5 separate regions of the Homo sapiens genome follow, and regions 1, 2, 3 and 4 are each linked to region 5. The links are contacts of gene promoters, found by promoter capture Hi-C in blood cells and fetal thymus (Javierre and others, 2016). All regions are on one chromosome and are shown on one strand. The core of a region is centred on a gene start or on the middle of the fragment in contact, and the rest is flanking DNA. Distances in the headings are between cores, read along the strand shown.

What was found. The method cuts DNA at HindIII sites, captures the fragments that hold promoters and counts their contacts. A CHiCAGO score of 5 or more calls a contact.
Region 1: a fragment that was not itself captured here is called in contact with the fragment with the promoter of IGFBP5 in region 5 in 2 of 17 cell types (M0 macrophages and endothelial precursors); the score reaches 6.2 in M0 macrophages.
Region 2: a contact is called between a fragment that was not itself captured here and the fragment with the promoter of IGFBP5 in region 5, in 8 of 17 cell types (fetal thymus, megakaryocytes, M2 macrophages and 5 more). The highest score is 11.0, in fetal thymus.
Region 3: a fragment that was not itself captured here is called in contact with the fragment with the promoter of IGFBP5 in region 5 in 1 of 17 cell types (M2 macrophages); the score reaches 5.3 in M2 macrophages.
Region 4: a fragment that was not itself captured here is called in contact with the fragment with the promoter of IGFBP5 in region 5 in 2 of 17 cell types (erythroblasts and megakaryocytes); the score reaches 5.7 in erythroblasts.

Annotation. Positions count from the first base shown.
Region 1 is chr2:217,476,586-217,480,216 of GRCh38, reverse strand. It overlaps DIRC3 (disrupted in renal carcinoma 3), which reads left to right. Exons shown (of 13, transcript NR_186301.1): 3 at 1,659-1,836. Among named protein-coding and RNA genes, the nearest start is that of DIRC3-AS1, 200 kb to the right of the region's middle. The HindIII fragment of the contact is 1,643 bases long and covers 469-2,111 here.
Region 2 is chr2:217,494,200-217,497,928 of GRCh38, reverse strand. The region is part of intron 2 of DIRC3 (disrupted in renal carcinoma 3); the gene reads left to right. Among named protein-coding and RNA genes, the nearest start is that of DIRC3-AS1, 210 kb to the right of the region's middle. The HindIII fragment of the contact is 3,797 bases long and covers 1-3,704 here.
Region 3 is chr2:217,548,976-217,552,971 of GRCh38, reverse strand. All of the region lies in intron 2 of DIRC3 (disrupted in renal carcinoma 3), which reads left to right. Among named protein-coding and RNA genes, the nearest start is that of DIRC3, 240 kb to the left of the region's middle. RefSeq lists an enhancer at 950-1,518. The HindIII fragment of the contact is 5,153 bases long and covers 170-3,996 here.
Region 4 is chr2:217,219,585-217,223,174 of GRCh38, reverse strand. LOC105373872 (a long non-coding RNA gene) reads left to right here and starts at 2,318. Exons shown (of 3, transcript XR_923875.3): 1 at 2,318-2,388; 2 at 2,849-2,950. The HindIII fragment of the contact is 4,190 bases long and covers 45-3,590 here.
Region 5 is chr2:216,694,018-216,697,915 of GRCh38, reverse strand. It overlaps IGFBP5 (insulin like growth factor binding protein 5), which reads left to right and starts at 2,367. Exons shown (of 4, transcript NM_000599.4): 1 at 2,367-3,477. The coding sequence starts at 3,141. It overlaps IGFBP-AS1 (IGFBP5 antisense RNA 1), which reads right to left and starts at 3,470. Exons shown (of 6, transcript NR_187138.1): 1 at 3,155-3,470. The HindIII fragment of the contact is 8,390 bases long and covers 1,913-3,898 here.

The DNA.
Region 1 (3,631 bases), core at 41-2,540, 780 kb before region 5:
TGTTTGAAAGTGGCAAGTCCTTGCTTGAAGACTCACTCATTACCTTTAGCTCAAGGGACCACATTCAAACAAGAGACATCTTATCATTACGATTTCCCATTGTCTGGTCACAGACAATGTATAAATGTCACTTCTTCTATTCCTTCTGGAATAACTAGTCTTTAGTAACCAAACTCAGACTAAGAACTGCAGCATTTTTCCCCACTTCCAGCCTAGATTTTCCCTCTGCTGTTTTTTCCTCTTTTCCATGGGTTATTTTTTCCAACTTAGGAGACAAGGAGAATGTGTATCCCAGGTAAAGTGAGGAGGAAAAGGGGAGGAGCTATGGCACAGACACATCAAAAGAGCCCTTTGTGCTCAGGGCACATTATTCCTGGAATCCGATCAAGTGCCCAAAACCCAACCAAGCTTTTCAGACAGCACAGAAACCAGTCATGCAGGCCTCTTGGGCTCCGCTTTTTTAAAGCTTTATAGGGTACACTGAATTATTTGGTTGGGTCTTTTCAACCGTGTGACATTTTGGTTTTCTATGGCACAAATGGAGTTGATCATTAATTATTTGGACGCTTTAATTAAAAAAAAAACCTCACTGTGGATTTATGAGGGTCTGCTGGGGGGCAAGGACAAGGAGCCCTTTAGTGATTCTCTCATTTGAATGAGAGTGAGGGTTGTGGAGGTCTAGAAAGGGAGGGTATAGAATCATCTTCCAAGAAGGTCTTAAACCCAAGTTAGGGTTTATTTGACGGAGGAGGGGCTTACAATGAAGAAAATGGAAGGGAACACAAGAAAGCAGAATTCTGAGACCTGCCAAATGCACTAGGCGGGAGGGCGTTTAATAAACGCACTAGGGGGAAGGGCATTAGCAGGGAGCCCTCAGCCATCAAGAGCTTCTGAATCAATACCTTTCACATCAGAACTAGTAAGTCCTCTGGGTTGAGGTGGGGGAAGGGCTGGTTTCTGGAACATACGATTCACTGAACCACAGAGAGACTCCAGGAGGGGAGTTTGTGAGTGGAATGTTGAATGCCCAGAAGGACAAATGAATGTCTTCCTGTTTCAGAGCAGCGAGGTAGCGAAGGTGTAACATCCGCTTCCTTTCTGGGGCATGTTTTGCAGCCTCAGCCTTCTTCTGTAACATGGATGTGTGTCCCTCCTGGGTCACACACACGCTCCACTTCCTGATATCCTGAAAAAGCTGTCACACTCCCAGAGAGTTGCGCTCCTGGGTGCCTCTCCACAAAGGTTAATCTCAATGACAAGTGATCCTGGGTGGGGTTGGGAAGTCTGGGAAAGGAAGTAAGCTCTTCTCCAGAGACAGCAGGAATTCCCATCTATTCAGCCCCTTGAATCCAGGAGCCTGAGAGAAAAGACTCAGCACATTTAAAAAATACTGATGAAAACTGCTTATCCTTAAAATCAAAATGCATAGTAATGCCATATGCCAAAAAGAAACATACTGATTTGTGTGGATATATTTGCTGATTTCCCCACTTAGATTTTTAAAAACCCTTACCTTGGAGTGATTCAATATGGAAAAAAAATGCCAAAAAACTTGAATGTTACTGATGTCTTTCCTTCTAAAGTGCACAAAATTATTTTAAGAATTGTTCTTATGGTGCCAGCTGACTAGACCATATTATTTATCTTATTTTGCAAAGGAGAGAAACTGAGTCCGAGGGATGTCAACATGCCAAGTCCATGGAAATATCAGTGGGCTGGAATTCTAGCTGCCTGAAAGAAGACATTCCTCACACAAGACCTCACAATCATATCCATGGAATTATAGCACTGGGCTCTCCAGATGGTGCTACAGGAAGACCTCCAGAAATTTGACAAGTAAGTTATTTGTTCTTCCTTACAGTCACTTCTCTGCAAAGGTTGGCTTTATGCATCTAATTTAGAGATGAGAAAAATAAAATTTACCCAAATTTTTGTAGCAAGTCCATTCGGGGTGTTTTTGGTAGTGTTTGCTTTGTCTAAAGTTAAGGGCTGGAGAGGTCATAATGAATTGAAGATAAATCTGGCTTCAGTTATTTGATGATAAAATAATGGAATTAAACATTAGAAAGCATAATTGATGGACTTACTTGACGTGAGAGCAAAAGCAAGCTTTCATGTCTCTTCCCAGCCTCCGTAGATCAAGATGGGAGGAATGTAGCTGGGAGAAGGGGTTCTGAAGCCTGGGGGAAAGAAATGGCTCAGACTCAACCCCACAGGTGGAGAGGGTAATGGGCCATAGCTCAGGAATTTTTAGGTTCCCCAGGGTATGCTGTCCACCTCCACCTGTTAGGGAAGGCATGGGGACATCAGCAATGGGTTTTGGCAGGTAAAAATACAATGACATGGCCTGGAGAATGTGTTCCTTTATCTCAGTTTTGCCCACAGAGAGAAGCAAGGGCTTCACTTTGGCCTGGGATCTACAGGGTGCATTGCTGCCTCCCATTGACAGGAGTTGAGCACTGCCCAGGCCCAAGGCACCCACCAGTTTTCATTCTAAAGTATAGGATAACAGCTAGTCACACACTTATATTTGCACCTAAATTCAAGATACTACCTTATGACAAAGTTTAATCATCTTGCTTATAACTCAGGGCTTAGAGGATATAACAAATTTCAGAGTGTTTAGTGATGAAAGAGAAGATATACTACATAAGAGGCATTTGTTTGGGACCAAACCCTGAAGCAGAGCCACTGTGTCTGAAGTCCCTTTACCTGGAGCCCTCTTTCCCCTCATCTTTACCTGACAGATTCATGTTCTTCATTTCCTTCTCAGTTCAGGGTCAGACTTCCCCAGAGATGCTTTTCTGTACCCCTTGGGCTAAATTAGGTCTTTGTGTAAGGTCTATTAAAGTGCCCTCTGTTTTTTCTTCACAGTACTCATCACATGAAAAAATAGTTACATACTATGATAAGCTATTTAATCCTTCTTTCTTCCAGTGGATGGTAAAGTCCTTGAAGATAAGGACCATGTCTGTGGTGCTCACAATAGATGTCTAGCACCAAGCAATATTTATTGAATGAATGAATGCCCTTGTCAGGAAACCCATTCTAGACTGGGGTTCTGCCATTATATGCCAGGATGGTCTTGGCCTTTCTGAGGCTCAGTTTCCTCATCTGTTAAATAACTCTGTTTGAATGCAGGATCTCTGAGGCCCCTTCTGATGATGCCACTCTACAATCCATTGTAACCCACTTGTGGTTCTGTTTTTCTTTGGCAGTTCCCTTGGCTCTTCAATTCAACCTCCCAAATAATTTCAGCTCTTCAATGCATTAATGATAAGGAGATCTTTTACTGTTGATTCTATAGTTCTCTCGGGGGAAGCTACAGCTCACAGCTCTTAACACTTCACTCCCCAAATTCCTATTAGACATTTTTTTTCCCTTGTTTTCCTTTTTTGGCTCTCTGCAGCTTCCTCTTTCTTCTGGGCCTCTCATTACTCTCTGAAGCCTCAAAAACTTTTGTAATTTATTTAGAGCAGCTCAGCACTGTGCCCAAAACCCTTCTCTGTTCAGCTGCCTCAGGGTATACAGTTGTCCTTGCTCAGATATCCCATGAGCCAGCTGCAGCAGCTCAAGTTTATTGTGTGTCTCTTTCCAAATCCATATTCAGTGACATTATGCTGGTAGCTTG
Region 2 (3,729 bases), core at 557-3,056, 800 kb before region 5:
TAATCACTGAAAGAGATTGCTGTTATTTCTTCTAGGTCACATATTTGACTTTTAATAGTAACTTTCAATCTTTAACTTGAAGGTGTAACCAATGAAAATTCCAGGAAAAACAGCAAGGTTTGTGGGCTAGATACTTTATAGCTATCATTTGTGACCTTTCAACTCTGTAACAGATACTTTAAATTCATAGTCCATTCAATCTTCATGACAACCCTATGAAGAAGGTATTATTTTCCCTGTTTTTATAGATCATAAGCCTTGTTGCTCATGAGAAATAAAAATAAAATCCTAAGTCCTTCAAAAAACTGAATAGACTCCCTCTTGGCCAAGGGGACCCCAGATAAACCTTAAAAACTGAGCTCCTAGCCATGACAAGATGGGAGGTCAGACACATCCCAGTATGCCCCTTCGTTATTAACCTTTAACCAGAATTCTTTCCTAGAGTAAGCAGAAATCAGCTCTAGAAAACAAGAAAGGGATGACTCCTTCCTTTATTACCTTTAGCCAATTATCTGAGGCCGTGACAGGACTCTCTCCCTCTCTTTGCAGTTTTGACATGATAACTCACCAGTTTTACAATGTATTCCTTCCTAATAAGAGACCACCAACCATGGAGTGGTTCTGGCATCAACAGAGGGTGCACAGTGAGGGTTTACATGTTCTGTGCTTTACCTTTTGATATTAGAAAGTCAAAAACTGCACCTTTGGATCATTCTAATGCCATCTTTTTTTTTTTAAAATTTTACTTTAAGTTCTGGGATACATAATGCAGAACATGTAGGTTTATTACATAGGTATACATGTGCCATGGTGGTTTGCTGTATCTATCGACCCATCATCTAGGTTTTAATCTCAGCATGCATTAGGTATTTGTCCTAATGCTCTCCCTCCCCTTGCCCCTCACCCCCCAACAGGCCCCGGTGTGTGATGTTCCCCTCCCTGTGTCCATATGTTCTCATTGTTCAACTCCCACTTATGAGTGAGAATATTCAGTGTTTGGTTTTATGTTCCTGTGTTAGTTTTCTAAGAATGATGGCTTCCAGCTTCATCCATGTCCCTGCAAAAGACATGAAATCATTCTTTTTTATAGCTGCATAGTATTGCATGGTGTACATGTGACACGTTTTCTTTATCAAGTCTATCATTGATGGGCATTTGGGTTAGTTCCAAGTCCTTACTATTTTAAATAGTAATGCCATCATTTTTTGAACATGCCACCCATGAAGAGGCATGGAGCTCAATTGTGCCTGTGCATATTACTCCTTTCATAAATATTCATGATTTCTCCTATAGTTTATTGAATATGTATGCTTAGCCAAGCTGTTCAGCATAAATTCCTGTCTTATGCCTACCCCGACCACCACCAAAGTGCCATTTTCCAGCTTCTGGCTGGAGGCTACACTTCCCAGCCTGTCAGAATGGCTACCTTGCAGGCTACAACCGTTTATGAGAAATAAAGATCTCCTTTCCAAAATTATGACTTCATCATTCTTCAGCTGACACTTATAAGGATGAGGGGATAGAGGCAGGAAAAGGCAGAGCTGTGATTTGAACCTGGGTAGACCTGATTTCAAAGCCTTAAGTACCCTTCCTACCACAGCTCCCTAGCTGGAGGCAATTCAGGATGAACAGCTCATGTTAGTGATAATGTGGTAGGAATTCATGTTTTTAACTTCACTGTATCCCATTTTATTTCTAGTCAGATATGTAATCTCTTCCAAGTCAAGAATTTCTTTCTTTAATTTTTTTTTCTCTTTCTGGATTTCAAATGATCATTTCCCCTCATTTTTGGGCTGAACTGACAAGAGAAACTTCAGGTCTTTCTCTTTAGATGGCCTAAATTGCTCAGAAACGAGAGAGAAACAATAAAAACCACTGTTCTGCTGGAAATTGTACTTTCAAAAGTCTTAAAATGATGGAAGGTTTCATAGCCACATGTCCCAGAGCTGGGTTCTGGATGAAATGAAGGGGCATAAATATCACCATGGTCTCAATGGAAAGGTGGGAAAAGACTTTTATACCCATATTTTCCCCTTCATATGTTGTTGTGGGACTCAGGAAGAAAGACACAATGTGCCTTGAAAGGGAGGCATGTGAGCTCCGGGAATGATGTGTATGAGCACTCAGATCTTAAGGAAACACCACATTGAGAATGTAGTGGGCATGGGTCAGGAAATTCTGAGCTCTGGCTTCTGCTGCAGGAAGAACAGCTAGCTCCTGATTACTTGTGAACAGGTCAGACCACCTGGCTTCTTCTCCTACCACGTATCCAGTTCAGCAAGAAAACAGCGGCAGGTGGCCTAGAAATAAATTGTTTTCTGCCTCTTTGTCCCACATGTTGGTGAAACAGGCCCAAGCAGAGAGGGATTAAATGTTTGAATTTAATTCTATGGTTCTTAGAAATAAAAAGCCAAATTTGGATAATAATTGCTTGCATATTAGTTATGACTTTTCTTTCATCTTCCTCTGACTGATGTAGGTGATTAAGTTGGCCAAACACAATCTCAATTTCCACATTAGGTTTGAAGTAGTCTAAAGACACACATCTGGGTGGGTATAGAGATTATGTGAACTTCAGTCATATTCTGCAAATGTTCCCATAATCCATGTTGTCAGTGTATAGGTTATAATGATCTTTTTGCATTTATAGGACCTTTTATATTTCTTTATTTATTTATTTATTGCAAATTTATTTTCAGCTGAAAATTTTATTCATTTATTTAGAGATGGGGGGGTCTTACTATGTTGCCCAGGCTAGTCTCAAACTCCTAGACTCAAGTGATCTGCCCACCTCAGCCTCCCAAAGTGCTGAGATTACAGGCATGAGCCACCACATTCAGCCCATTTACAGGATCTTATTTCCTTTTTTTTTTTTTTAATATTTTCATCCTAATCCATTATCCTTTATGAGTGAACAGTATCTCCTGTATAATTAGACTGTGCAGAGGGAAGAAGAGTTACTCAAAGGTTCAGGTAAGTGAGTTGCCTAACACCGGTGAGGACATTGAGACCCAGTGAGAGAGACCCGCACAGTGCTCAGCCCGTTTTGGAGTTGAATATCAGTCCATATTGTTTGACTTTCACAAAAACAGTGGTTACTAGACCTCAGGTTATTGGCAAGAAGTAAATACAAGGCGTGACAATGCATCTGAACAAAGTTAGAATTTGTTGGCTGTGGTGAAATCTGAGGGCAAAATCAAGCTCCCATCTTGTTCCCCTGACTAAAGCCACTGAAAATAGTTCCTCATTGTGGTTTCTGAGATCCAAAGAAAAGACAGCTCCAAGTGGTTTATTACACAAGGTTCAGAAGGCTTATGGGCATCCAATGGTTCCCACCAAGTTGGATTTTGATGGGTTAAATGTGGGCAAATCAGAAACATAAGAATTAAATTTCCTTTCCAATACACATGGGTTTTAAGTGAAGGGAAAAAGGTGCTTCGGGCACAATGCATTTATTTGCCAAGCCCCAAACATTCAAAAAATGGTTCAATATGTCCCAGTACATCCAGCCAGCTGCCCAGTCTCCCCTCTTTCTGGAAGTGATTGTCTACATATGCACACTGATAGGTGCACAGAAAGTGATGTTATATCTTCTGCAATTTAAGTTTTTGACCATCTAGTCTCTGATACAGATTATTCTAAATTCTCAGATGATGTAGCGATGGAGGTATAGTGGTCTTTCCCCAAAAATATGACACAAAGCTTCCTCAACCCCTTACCCAATGTCTG
Region 3 (3,996 bases), core at 1,497-3,996, 850 kb before region 5:
GAACCCTCTAGTTACTGTGTTTTTTTGTGTTTGACTTTTAGGAGGGTGATAAGGAAAAAGCAAAACCAGATGACAATCTTTAAGGAACATCCTAGAGTCAAAAGAACTTGGGTTAGGGCTTGGGATGCCTGGGTCTGCCCCAGGCCCTCTCCTTTGCCCCGGGAAAGCTTCTTCTAATGTGTGGGCCTGGATGATCTCTCCTCTCCCCTCCAGCTCTGCTATTCCCTCTCTCTAACTTCTAGACCCTAACTGACACAGCATTCCTCTGTAAGCTACTTCATCTGCAAATAAGAGGTTTGGTGGAATTTGATCTATTGTCCTGAACAAAATTGCAAAGTGAGATCAGGCATTTTAGAAAAGATTTATAAATAGAGAACCCCAGTTAGGCATCCTAGAGAACCTTGGGCAAAGTTTTAGAATTATTACTTGCAGGTAGAATTTTGTGGGTGATAGGCTATTTTCTTTTAGTTTGACATAATCCCTGTGCTCTAGGGAATTTACAGTGTAATAAAGATGGTAAAATGCGACTTCCTTAATGGCTTTCCATTCTCCCCAAACCTTTAACACAGTCTGCAGAGCCTTGTTATCTGTCTTCTGTCCTGCTTCCCTCTCTCCGCTGCATGCTTCTCATTCCTCAAGAAGTGCTCTTCTCTCCTTTCCCTGAGCCTGAAATTCCCACCTCTGATTACCCTGAAGAACTCTTATTCATCCCTCAGGTGTCATCTCTGATGTCCTTTTCTCCAGAAAGTCTTCCCCAATCCTCCAGACCACACACGTTGTTCTGTTCCAGGCTCTTGTTTCCAACTATACATTTAGCTCTCACCACTATTATCACCAGATCACTTACCATGTAACCAGTTATTTAATGTCCATCTCCCCTTCGTGAACTTCACCTCCAAGAGGGTAGTGCTTGTCTTAGTCATCCTGGTAACCCCAGTATACAACAAAGTACTCTGCCATTGCAGGTACCTAATGGATATTTATTATATGAATGAATGAATATGAAAGGTTGAGTTTCACTGCAAGAGCCAGGTTATCACGTTAGACCTCAATACCAGGCACCACGCAATACCTGGTGCATTGTGTGACCACTGGAATAGAGGATGAATGCTGAAGGTTCAGAGATGTGGCGGCCACTGTAAATCAGCAAGGCTTCCTGGCTGTAGATCATAAGCCTGTGTGGGCCCCTTCATTCCTCTCACATTCCGAAACATCAGGGTTTAAATCTACAGACAGCTCTGCCCAGATTCCTAGGATGTTTTTATGGGCTAGAATACCAACATGAGTCAGCACTGCCCTTGTCATGCTAAGTTTATCAAATGGCAGATGCTGTGGTATATTGGCCAGAATTTGCTGACCTCTTATCATGGCTAGGTCATAGTACATGTTCCAATAGCTATTTTATAGTATATTCTCAGGGCCATACTTCCAGGATGGTGTTAATCCTCTTACTAACTTACAGCAGACAGCTAGCAGTTGACATGCCATATGAGCAACGTCATCCTTCTGGAATAATCTATAATGCTCAGGGGATCACCCCCTTCAGTACTTTCCATCTCACTGCAGATACTTCACATTAGGGCAGGTACTGGGTGGTGAGCTATGAGCATTGCTGCCTATAGTGAGTAGGACAGGACCAATAGGGGTCAGGGAAATATCAGTGGAAGAGCAGATATGACCCCTGTCTGCAGTAAAGACCATCCAAAAATGGGAGGCAGAACATCTGAGAAATTCTAAAAGATCTCTCTGTTATCATCATATGCTTAATGTGTGTGTTAGTGCTATTTCACCATAAACTATGCATAATAAATCTTTGTGTTGCTAACTACTTCTGAGCCTTATGAAAACGGGCATAGTGACTGTTCTATATATTCTTTTCTTCCTCTTAAAATCGAGGTATAATTGACATACAACAAATCACACATTTAAAGTTACACATTGGTAAATTTCACATGTGTATTTATTCACGAAACCATCACCACAATCAAGATAATTAACACATCCTTTACCCTCACGTTTTCTCATTTGCCCTTGTAGCCCCAGCCCCCTGCTCCCAAGGCCACCCCGTTCTCAGGCAGCCATGAGCTGCTTTCTGTCACTGTAGATAAATTTGCATTTCCTAGAATTTTGTATAAATGGAATCTTTTTTTTTTTTTTTTTTTTGAGATGGAGTCTCACTCTGTTGCCCAGGCTGGAGTGCAGTGGCGTGATCTCGGCTCACTGCAACCTCCACTTCCCGGGTTCAAGCGATTCTCCTGCCTCCGCGTCCCGAATAGCTGGGACTACAGGCACGCACCACCATGCCCGGCTAATTTATTTATTTTTTTTTTTTTTGAGACGGAGTCTCTCTCTGTCACCCAGGCTGGAGTGCAGTGGCGTGATCTCTGCTCACTGCAAGCTCCTCCTCCCGGATTCACACCATTCGCCTCCTCAGCCTCCTGAGTAGCTGGGACTACAGGCGCCTGCCGCCACGCCCGGCTAATTTTTGTATTTTTTAGTAGAGACAGGGTTTCACCACGTTGACCAGGCTGGTCTTGAACTCCCGACCTCAGGTGATCCACCCATCTCAGCTTCCCAAAGTGTTGAGATTACAGGTGTGAGCCACTACTGCCAGTCGATAAATGGAATCTTATAGTATGTGCTCTGTTATCTGGCTTCTTCTACTTAGCATTTTTTTTAGATTCATTCATAGTACTGTGTATATCAATAACTGATTCCTTTCTGTGGTTAAGCAGTAGTCCATTGTATGGTAAAACATGATTTGTTTATTTATTCATCTGCAGATGGACATTTAGATTGTTTCCAGTTTTTGACTACTACAAATAAAGCAGCTATGAACATCTGAGTACAAATACATGGATATATGCTTTAATTTATCTTTGGTAAATATCTAAAAGTGGAATGGCTGGATCACATGTTTAGTTTCTTAAGAAACTGCCAATCTGCTTTCCAAAGCGATTGTGCCATTTTACATTCCCACTAGCAGTGTGTGAGAATTCCGGTTGCTCTACATCCGTGACAACACGTTGTATGGACTGCCTTTAATTTTAAACATTCCAATGGATGTGTAGTAGTGTCTCATTGTGGTTATAATTTGCCTTCCCTAATGACTATTGATGTTGAACATCTTATCATGTACCTATTTGCCATCAGTATAGCTTCTTTGATGAAGTGTGTCTCGTATCTTTTGTCATTTTAAATTTTTATTTGCCTTTTTTATTATGGGTTTCGAGAGTTCTAAATATAGACTATATAAAGTTATTTTATCAGATATGTGATTTGAAAATATTTCCTCCCAGACTATGGCTTGCCTTTGTCATTACCTTAACAGTGTCTTTTAAAGTGTGGCAGTTTTTAATTTTGCTGAAGTCTATTGTTTTCTTTTATGGATGATTGTTTTGGTGTTGTACCTAAGAAACCTTTGTGTAACTCACAAAGATTTTACCATTTATTTTCTTCTGAAAGTCTTATCATTTTACTTTACGTCCGTGAACCACTTTCAGTTAATTTTTGTACATGGCATGAGGTATAAATGAAAGCTCCTTTTTTTTGCATGTGGATATCCATTTGTTTCAGCAGCATTTATTGAAAGATTGTATTTTCCCTTCCAAATTGCCTTTGTACCTTGGCAAAAATCACTTGTACGTATAGGTGTGGGTCTATTTCTAGAATCTCTCTTAATGTTTCATTGATCTATGTGTCTTATCTTTATGCCAACACCATAGCGTGTTGATTATTGTAACTTCATGAGTTTTGAAGTCAGGTAGTGTTAGACCTCCAACTTTTTGTTTTTATATTTTTCTAAAATAGCCAAAACATTTTTTTTGCATTTCCATTTGAAGTTTAGAATAATCTTGCCAATTTCTACAAAAAAGCCTGCTGGGATTTTTGATTGGGAGTGCATTGAATCTATAAGCTAATTTTGGGGAGAATTGAAATCTGTTTTAATCAGGGTTCTCCAGAGAACGGAACCAATAGGATGTCTGTGTGTGTGTG
Region 4 (3,590 bases), core at 890-3,389, 530 kb before region 5:
GACCATGACAAGTCAAGGGAGACTGTGAAAGAAATAAAAAAGCTTTATATTTTACTACCTCTAATGACAGTTTTCCCCTGCCTTTTATTTCAAAAACACATTCAGTCTGTAGCATAGAATGAGGTTATGTAACCTTGAACAGTAATAGAAATGATCAAAATACAAAGGCATGGTAATTTATAGGGAGCTGAGTGTAAAACATAAAAAACAGCATTCTCAAGTCGTTTTTTCAGAAGTCCATAGGTGTTGCTTATAAAATAGAGACTACAAAGCCTTGAAGAAAACAGGTTCACAGGAGCAAGATATGGTTCAAGCTGAGAGTCCTCTGCCAAATCAGGGGGGTTGGTAAAATCTAGGGAGAGAACGATTCTAATTTCAAGAAGAAAAGCACTAGACAGAAAAAAGGAACTGAGAAACTGAGAAGCAGAAGTATTACGTTGATGCAAAAGTAACTGCGGTTTTTGCGGTTACTTTTAGTGACAAAAATCGCAATTACTTTTGCACCAACCTAATACATATAGTAGGCCCAAGGCAGTGGATCTGGTGTACAGATATTAGAGATGGATTGAAGGGAGAAAGGGGCAGAAAAAGAGACAACCAAATAGCTTAGACACATACTCCTAAGGCCAGAGCCTGGGCACCAGTAGCAGGGCTGAGTGATGTGGCCATGATCTTCAACTCAAAGAATGTTCAAAGTAGGAGGGACCCCAGAACTCATCTAATTCAAACCACTTATTATCAGTGGGATAAAATGAGGCACAAAAAGGGACATGACTTATCCAAAACTATGGAATTTGTAACAGAAGATAATATTTTAATTTATGCCTTTTCTGCTGTATCACAAAGTCAATTTATAGGTCAGATGGGAATACCTAGGATCTATACTAGAATATGTCTTTCTCCCCTAGAAAGAGAAAGTAGAAAGACGATCAGCTCCACTTGGAAATAGCAATTATGGTAAAAGAACTAGCTCAAAATCCCACACCCAAATTAACATCTGGTTCTCCAGCACTCACGAAGTTTAAGGCATGTGCTGGGTACAAGGAAAAAGCTCTAGGCTCCAAGATTGTTTTCCTGCTAGACTGGCCCCTAAGGGTCAGGGACCAAATCTGATTTACCTTTCCATCTCTAACACCTGGATAATAGTCGTCTTTGACTATTTATTTTCAATAAGTAATTATTTTATTCCTAGGGTCCCTTGCATTTCTATTCTCCTAATATTACATATAAATTCGCTGAGATAAGAGAAGTAAAGAGAGAAGTCAGTGATCACAGAGTGAATGAATTAAGAGCAGAATTCAAGTCTACCTTTCTTGGGCTCTTTCTCCTCACCATTGCTGTTGCTATTCCCTCCAAAGGATTAGGACAAAGGAAAGAGATGAAGCAAAAATGGATACAAAATTGAGTAATAATACAACAATTAAATAATCCGAAAATCAAAGTCTAGGAGAAAGATCTATGAACTGGAATATGAATATGTAGTAAGAGCTTCTTTAGAGTCTAAGGCTGGACTGTTCATAGGCACATTGGCATTTGCAGCATCTAAAACAAGGCTTGGCATATACCTCCCATTGCTACTAAAATAATAGATAGTATATCCTGTAGTTAGACTGTTCAGCAGCATATATCAAGTGCCAGCTTAGTGCTTCAAACTTGAGTTACATTGACAGAAGCCTTCAAAACAATATTGTGTGAGATAAACACAATGGTTGCAGTCTATGGTCTGAAATTCTTTTACTGTGGGAAGGCCAGTTTTAAAGATGATTTGAAGGTCAAATGAGGTCACCTTTAACATAATGTAGCATTTACTGGACTGCAGTGGTCAAGGGAAAACAAAGAGGTTTTTGGAGAACTTAGACATTGGAGAATAGTCATGCTCTTGGATGGCATTATCCAAAGACGGTGGCAGTTGAGTGGAATCCAATAACCACGCTACGAAAGAACATAATCTGAGCTATGGGTGAAGTAGGGGAGTGAGGGCCACAGACCAGAGGCCTTTCGGAGTTTCTCAAATCTTTAAATATCTTTCAAGAAGGGGGACCCTATAGCTCTTTCAGTACCATCATATCAGCTTATTTATGATACCAGAACTATAACTGTATTCTAAGTCACCAGAATTGACAGCAATTTATATGGGTTTGATTTTTTTTTAGTGACTAGAGAAAAAAATAAGTATCAGTTACTTTCTTGACCTACCAGGCCAGCCTTTGCAGAAAGAGGGATAAAGCATCCTTGATGAGGAACAAATAAAATTATACTGTGAAGAAATTTCCAACTGGTCAGATCAGGATGTAATTCTCTTGTTTGTGTTTTTCTTAGAAAGCATTTCCATTTTGCCTGGCTCTGGGAACAAAGCCAATGTCTGCTTTAGAGGAACAGAGATTTCCAGTAAGTTGGGCTGGCAATAGTGGCTGGGTGGGTGGGATCACAGGGAGGGTTTATGGGGGGACAGTTCCGAAACCCATGTACAAGCCTAGAAAGGGCGAGATGGTTGGTTTGCCTCATATTCTCAGATCAACAAGGCCTCTGAGACATTTTTATGGGCCAGGGAGGGATGAGACTGAGTCAGAAGACAGAGCCTAGACACCTCCAATACCCTTGCCTCAAATAATTAACAAATCACAAAAGCAGGGTGGGAAAGGAGGGAGGAAAGGAAGCAGAAGTGAAGAGAGACACTGTTCTCCCACTCTCTGCTGGTTAGACCTAACAAGGTTATGCTTCATGCTGGGTTTCACAATAGCATCAACCTCAGCCTCAGAAGCATGTCTTAGAACCAGTCCCCGGAGATCAAGAACCACGTTCTTCTCTTCCTTCTCTCCAAATCACTTCCTTTTATCTATTTTTCCAGCACAGCGAATGAGAAAAAGGACACAGACCCAGGATTCAGAAAGGAAATGAGGACAGAGACTAACACTGTCTAAATACATAAAGGCAGAAGACATTTTCTCAGGTGAGTTATATACCTGCCTTATTCATATGATCTTCACAAGTCAGTCAGAAAACTTCGGTTTCAGTCCTGGTTTTACACTAAAGGGTTGAACGACTGTGAACAAGTCCCATAAGTTCTGCTCTCCTCACTGAGGAGTGCAGAGTGTGTATAAAATGGGAACAATGCTATTTTCCCAGCTACCCTAGAACATTGTTTCAAGAATCAAATGGGATAATACTCAAAGAAGTATTTGGTGAGCTGTGAAATGCTGAACATATGCAAGGAATTATTATTTAGCCAATAAACATCTCTCCAAGACACCAGTCTCTGAGATTGCCCCACTTGAGAGATAGCTCTCTTCTCTATTTACCTCAAACACGTATTCTGACTCCAATCCAAAGTCACTTGGAAATTGGCCTCAAAGATCTAACCATAGCCTTGGCACCAGACAGAAAATCAGATCTCACTTCCTGCCCCTGCTTTTATTTGCAATGTAGCTTCCAAAGCAAGAAACAAAATCTCAAGCTCCATTAATAATGAAACAAGGAGGCTCAAAAGCCTCACATCCTAACATTGGGCTCAATGAAGAAGGAGGAAGCATCAGTGATGATGAGGAAAGGTACAAGTGCAGGGTGAAGGTGGGAGTTGGCCTTAAGAGAGA
Region 5 (3,898 bases), core at 1,118-3,617:
CCAGGGTCTCTTGGACAACAGCTCCAGTGTCTGAATCCCTTATAACCTAAGCCCATTTCTAAGTGGAGATAAAGAATGGCTGCTTAGCACACCAACACAGCACATGTATACATATGTAACAAACCTGCACATTGTGCACATGTACCCTAGAACTTAAAGTATTAAAAAAAAAAAAAAAGAATAGCTGCTTAACATTTACAGTCTTGCAGAGTAACCTCTCTCCATGGCCCCTGTACTGCTCTGCCCCAGGGTCCGGCTCCCACCACATTCTCCTCCCCCCTTCTCTCTACCCTTTTTATCTTTTCTGTGAATGATCCCCCCTCCTTTTACCTGTCTTCACATATTGTATTATCCAGCCATTGGAAGTCGGCTACACAAAAAGAGGTGTCACTAGAGGCCATCTCTCTCAGAATACAGGGTGACTGGAACGAGGCAACTCATGTTTCTTTGGAAGGAGTACCACAATTTCCCCCAATCATCTTAAAAGCTACCAGTGTGCCTGAGGCAGGCTGAGCTGCTAAGGGTGTGCAGAAAGAAATAGGAGCAGGGAAGAGAACATACTGCACACATTCTGCTGCCACTCTTGTAGTCTGAACTTGACACAAATGACAAAATAACACATGATTTCCCTCACTTCTAAAATATTTCCACCAAAGTTTTGAATATTGATTTGTTCCTACCTTACCAAGCCCTCAGACTGAGAAAAGAAGAAATTAAGATGAGCCTTGCTGCTATTTTTTGTTTTAATCATTACACACAATGCTCCTCCCTCTCCCAGCCACCACGTGGCTAAACCCCCTTTGGCAATACAGGCAAAGACATAACTTTAGACGTTAACCTTGTTTTAAAATGTGCCTTTCGGCAAATAGATAAGTGAGAAGAGAGATCAGGATCTGGGGGTGTTAACGGCATAAAGTGAGATGCTCCTGAACTGAACGAGCAAGAAAAAATATTTTCTTGAAAGCAGTCCTCCAGAAAGAATTCTTATCATAGATAAGGGTGCAGTCTAGTGGCAAACTTCATGAAATGCAGCCCCTTCTCCAAAGGAAAGTTAGAATACTTCTCAAGGGAGGAAGCACAATGTAAAAGGTGTAACAGCCCACACCAAGTCCACCCAGCAGGGGCAGTGACATTGGTCATTTCTCTCTGACTTGCCTGTGAGGCTCATGGCTCACTCAGGTCAATTTCAGAAAAAGCTAAAACCACCACCTTCCTATTTCAAGGCCTTAGTTTTCTTTCATTTTATTAAAGAGGTTCTAGTGGCATGATTCGGTTCCTGGTCAGGACCTCTTCCAAGCAGGTCCTGTGGCCCTGTCAGCTCATATTCCTGGGATGTGCCTATAAGCACCAACTAACCTGTCAACCTATCACAAGGTCTCCTCCAGCTACTCTGCCACCCACTCCCTCCAGGGATGTGGCCCTGCCCAATAGAAATACCTCTGCAAAGTGACAGAGAGGGAAGTGTCACTCCAATCCACCTTTCTTCCCTCTAAGAACCCCACACACAAGGACACTTTAGGCCACCATGCAAGGTTTTCAGACTTAGCATTTCCTCCAAAGTGTCCATCTCTGCAACTCACTGCTCTCAATAATGCTGTTGTATGAATGTCCATTCCTGCAGATACACAACACACACACATACACACACACACACAGAGAGAGAGAAAGAGAGAGAGAACCTCCCTGGCCAACGCAGCTGAAGGCAACTGGTCACCTCTTCATCATGAGTACTGAAACCCCCTGATTAAATCCTCTTCTCCAGACTTTTAGGGGAGAAATTCAATTTTTTCTTCTTTTTTAAATTTAGCTCACCAGACATCACTGGCCATTCTACACTACCTGTCCCCCAAACACACACACACACACACCCCACATGGAAACAGACACCAGCATACAGTCAATTGCAGAAGCTTAGGAAGATTTCTTGGGCACGGTATATCCAGTTGGCTAATAAGAAAATACGTCTCCCTTCAGCCTGTGCCTTGACTACTTAAAGGATAGGAGGGAAGGGGAGACGAAGTTACTCTCCTCATTGTGTTCACCCTGCTCCGAAGAACTCTGTCTTCCACTGGCCCCTCCACCTCCTCCCCATTCTCGGTAGCCCCAGCCTGTCCCCCTTGCCCCTTTCTTACATTCCGGGGGGAGGAGGGCGCTGTTCAGAGGGGAGGAGGGCGCTGTTCAGGGAGCGAAGGGGAGCCCCCTTGTGTCTAGAAGGCCTCTCCCCACCCCCACCCCGTGTGAGTTTGTACTGCAAAGCTCCTTGGCATCCTTGCCTGAGTTGGGTGTTGGGAAGCTCAAATTGCAGCTACAAACTGGCTGGCAGCCAGGGGCCGGCTATTTAAAAGCGCCTGCTCTCCCGGAGCCCCGTAGTCTCTTTGGAAACTTCTGCAGGGGAAAAGAGCTAGGAAAGAGCTGCAAAGCAGTGTGGGCTTTTTCCCTTTTTTGCTCCTTTTCATTACCCCTCCTCCGTTTTCACCCTTCTCCGGACTTCGCGTAGAACCTGCGAATTTCGAAGAGGAGGTGGCAAAGTGGGAGAAAAGAGGTGTTAGGGTTTGGGGTTTTTTTGTTTTTGTTTTTGTTTTTTAATTTCTTGATTTCAACATTTTCTCCCACCCTCTCGGCTGCAGCCAACGCCTCTTACCTGTTCTGCGGCGCCGCGCACCGCTGGCAGCTGAGGGTTAGAAAGCGGGGTGTATTTTAGATTTTAAGCAAAAATTTTAAAGATAAATCCATTTTTCTCTCCCACCCCCAACGCCATCTCCACTGCATCCGATCTCATTATTTCGGTGGTTGCTTGGGGGTGAACAATTTTGTGGCTTTTTTTCCCCTATAATTCTGACCCGCTCAGGCTTGAGGGTTTCTCCGGCCTCCGCTCACTGCGTGCACCTGGCGCTGCCCTGCTTCCCCCAACCTGTTGCAAGGCTTTAATTCTTGCAACTGGGACCTGCTCGCAGGCACCCCAGCCCTCCACCTCTCTCTACATTTTTGCAAGTGTCTGGGGGAGGGCACCTGCTCTACCTGCCAGAAATTTTAAAACAAAAACAAAAACAAAAAAATCTCCGGGGGCCCTCTTGGCCCCTTTATCCCTGCACTCTCGCTCTCCTGCCCCACCCCGAGGTAAAGGGGGCGACTAAGAGAAGATGGTGTTGCTCACCGCGGTCCTCCTGCTGCTGGCCGCCTATGCGGGGCCGGCCCAGAGCCTGGGCTCCTTCGTGCACTGCGAGCCCTGCGACGAGAAAGCCCTCTCCATGTGCCCCCCCAGCCCCCTGGGCTGCGAGCTGGTCAAGGAGCCGGGCTGCGGCTGCTGCATGACCTGCGCCCTGGCCGAGGGGCAGTCGTGCGGCGTCTACACCGAGCGCTGCGCCCAGGGGCTGCGCTGCCTCCCCCGGCAGGACGAGGAGAAGCCGCTGCACGCCCTGCTGCACGGCCGCGGGGTTTGCCTCAACGAAAAGAGCTACCGCGAGCAAGTCAAGATCGGTGAGCGCGCTCAGTGTGCCAGTCAGTTACGCGGCGCACGGGCGGGGGACACGAGACCGGCTGGGCCCGCGCGCTTTGCGCAGCAAGTGGCTTCGAGCTGGGGTGCAGCTCGGGAGTAGTCGGGGAGGGTCCTTGCACCCCGGAATTGGAGCCCTGGAGGATCCTGCTACCCGGGGGAACTGTCTAGCCGAGTCTATCCCAGCTTTCGCTCTTTCTCCTTCCTCCTACCCACACGTTGCCCGCCCCCTCCCCCTACTCTGTCCGAATACTGATTCTGAGCTCTTATTCGGTCACAAGGTCCAAATCCCCTGGTACCCTATCTACAGTCTGAAAGAGTGTATGTTACATTATCAACTCCCTCCTCCACCCCCCTCGCGCCCCGCATAGGTTTTTTTCTGAACTTGGAAAAAAAATCTCTTTT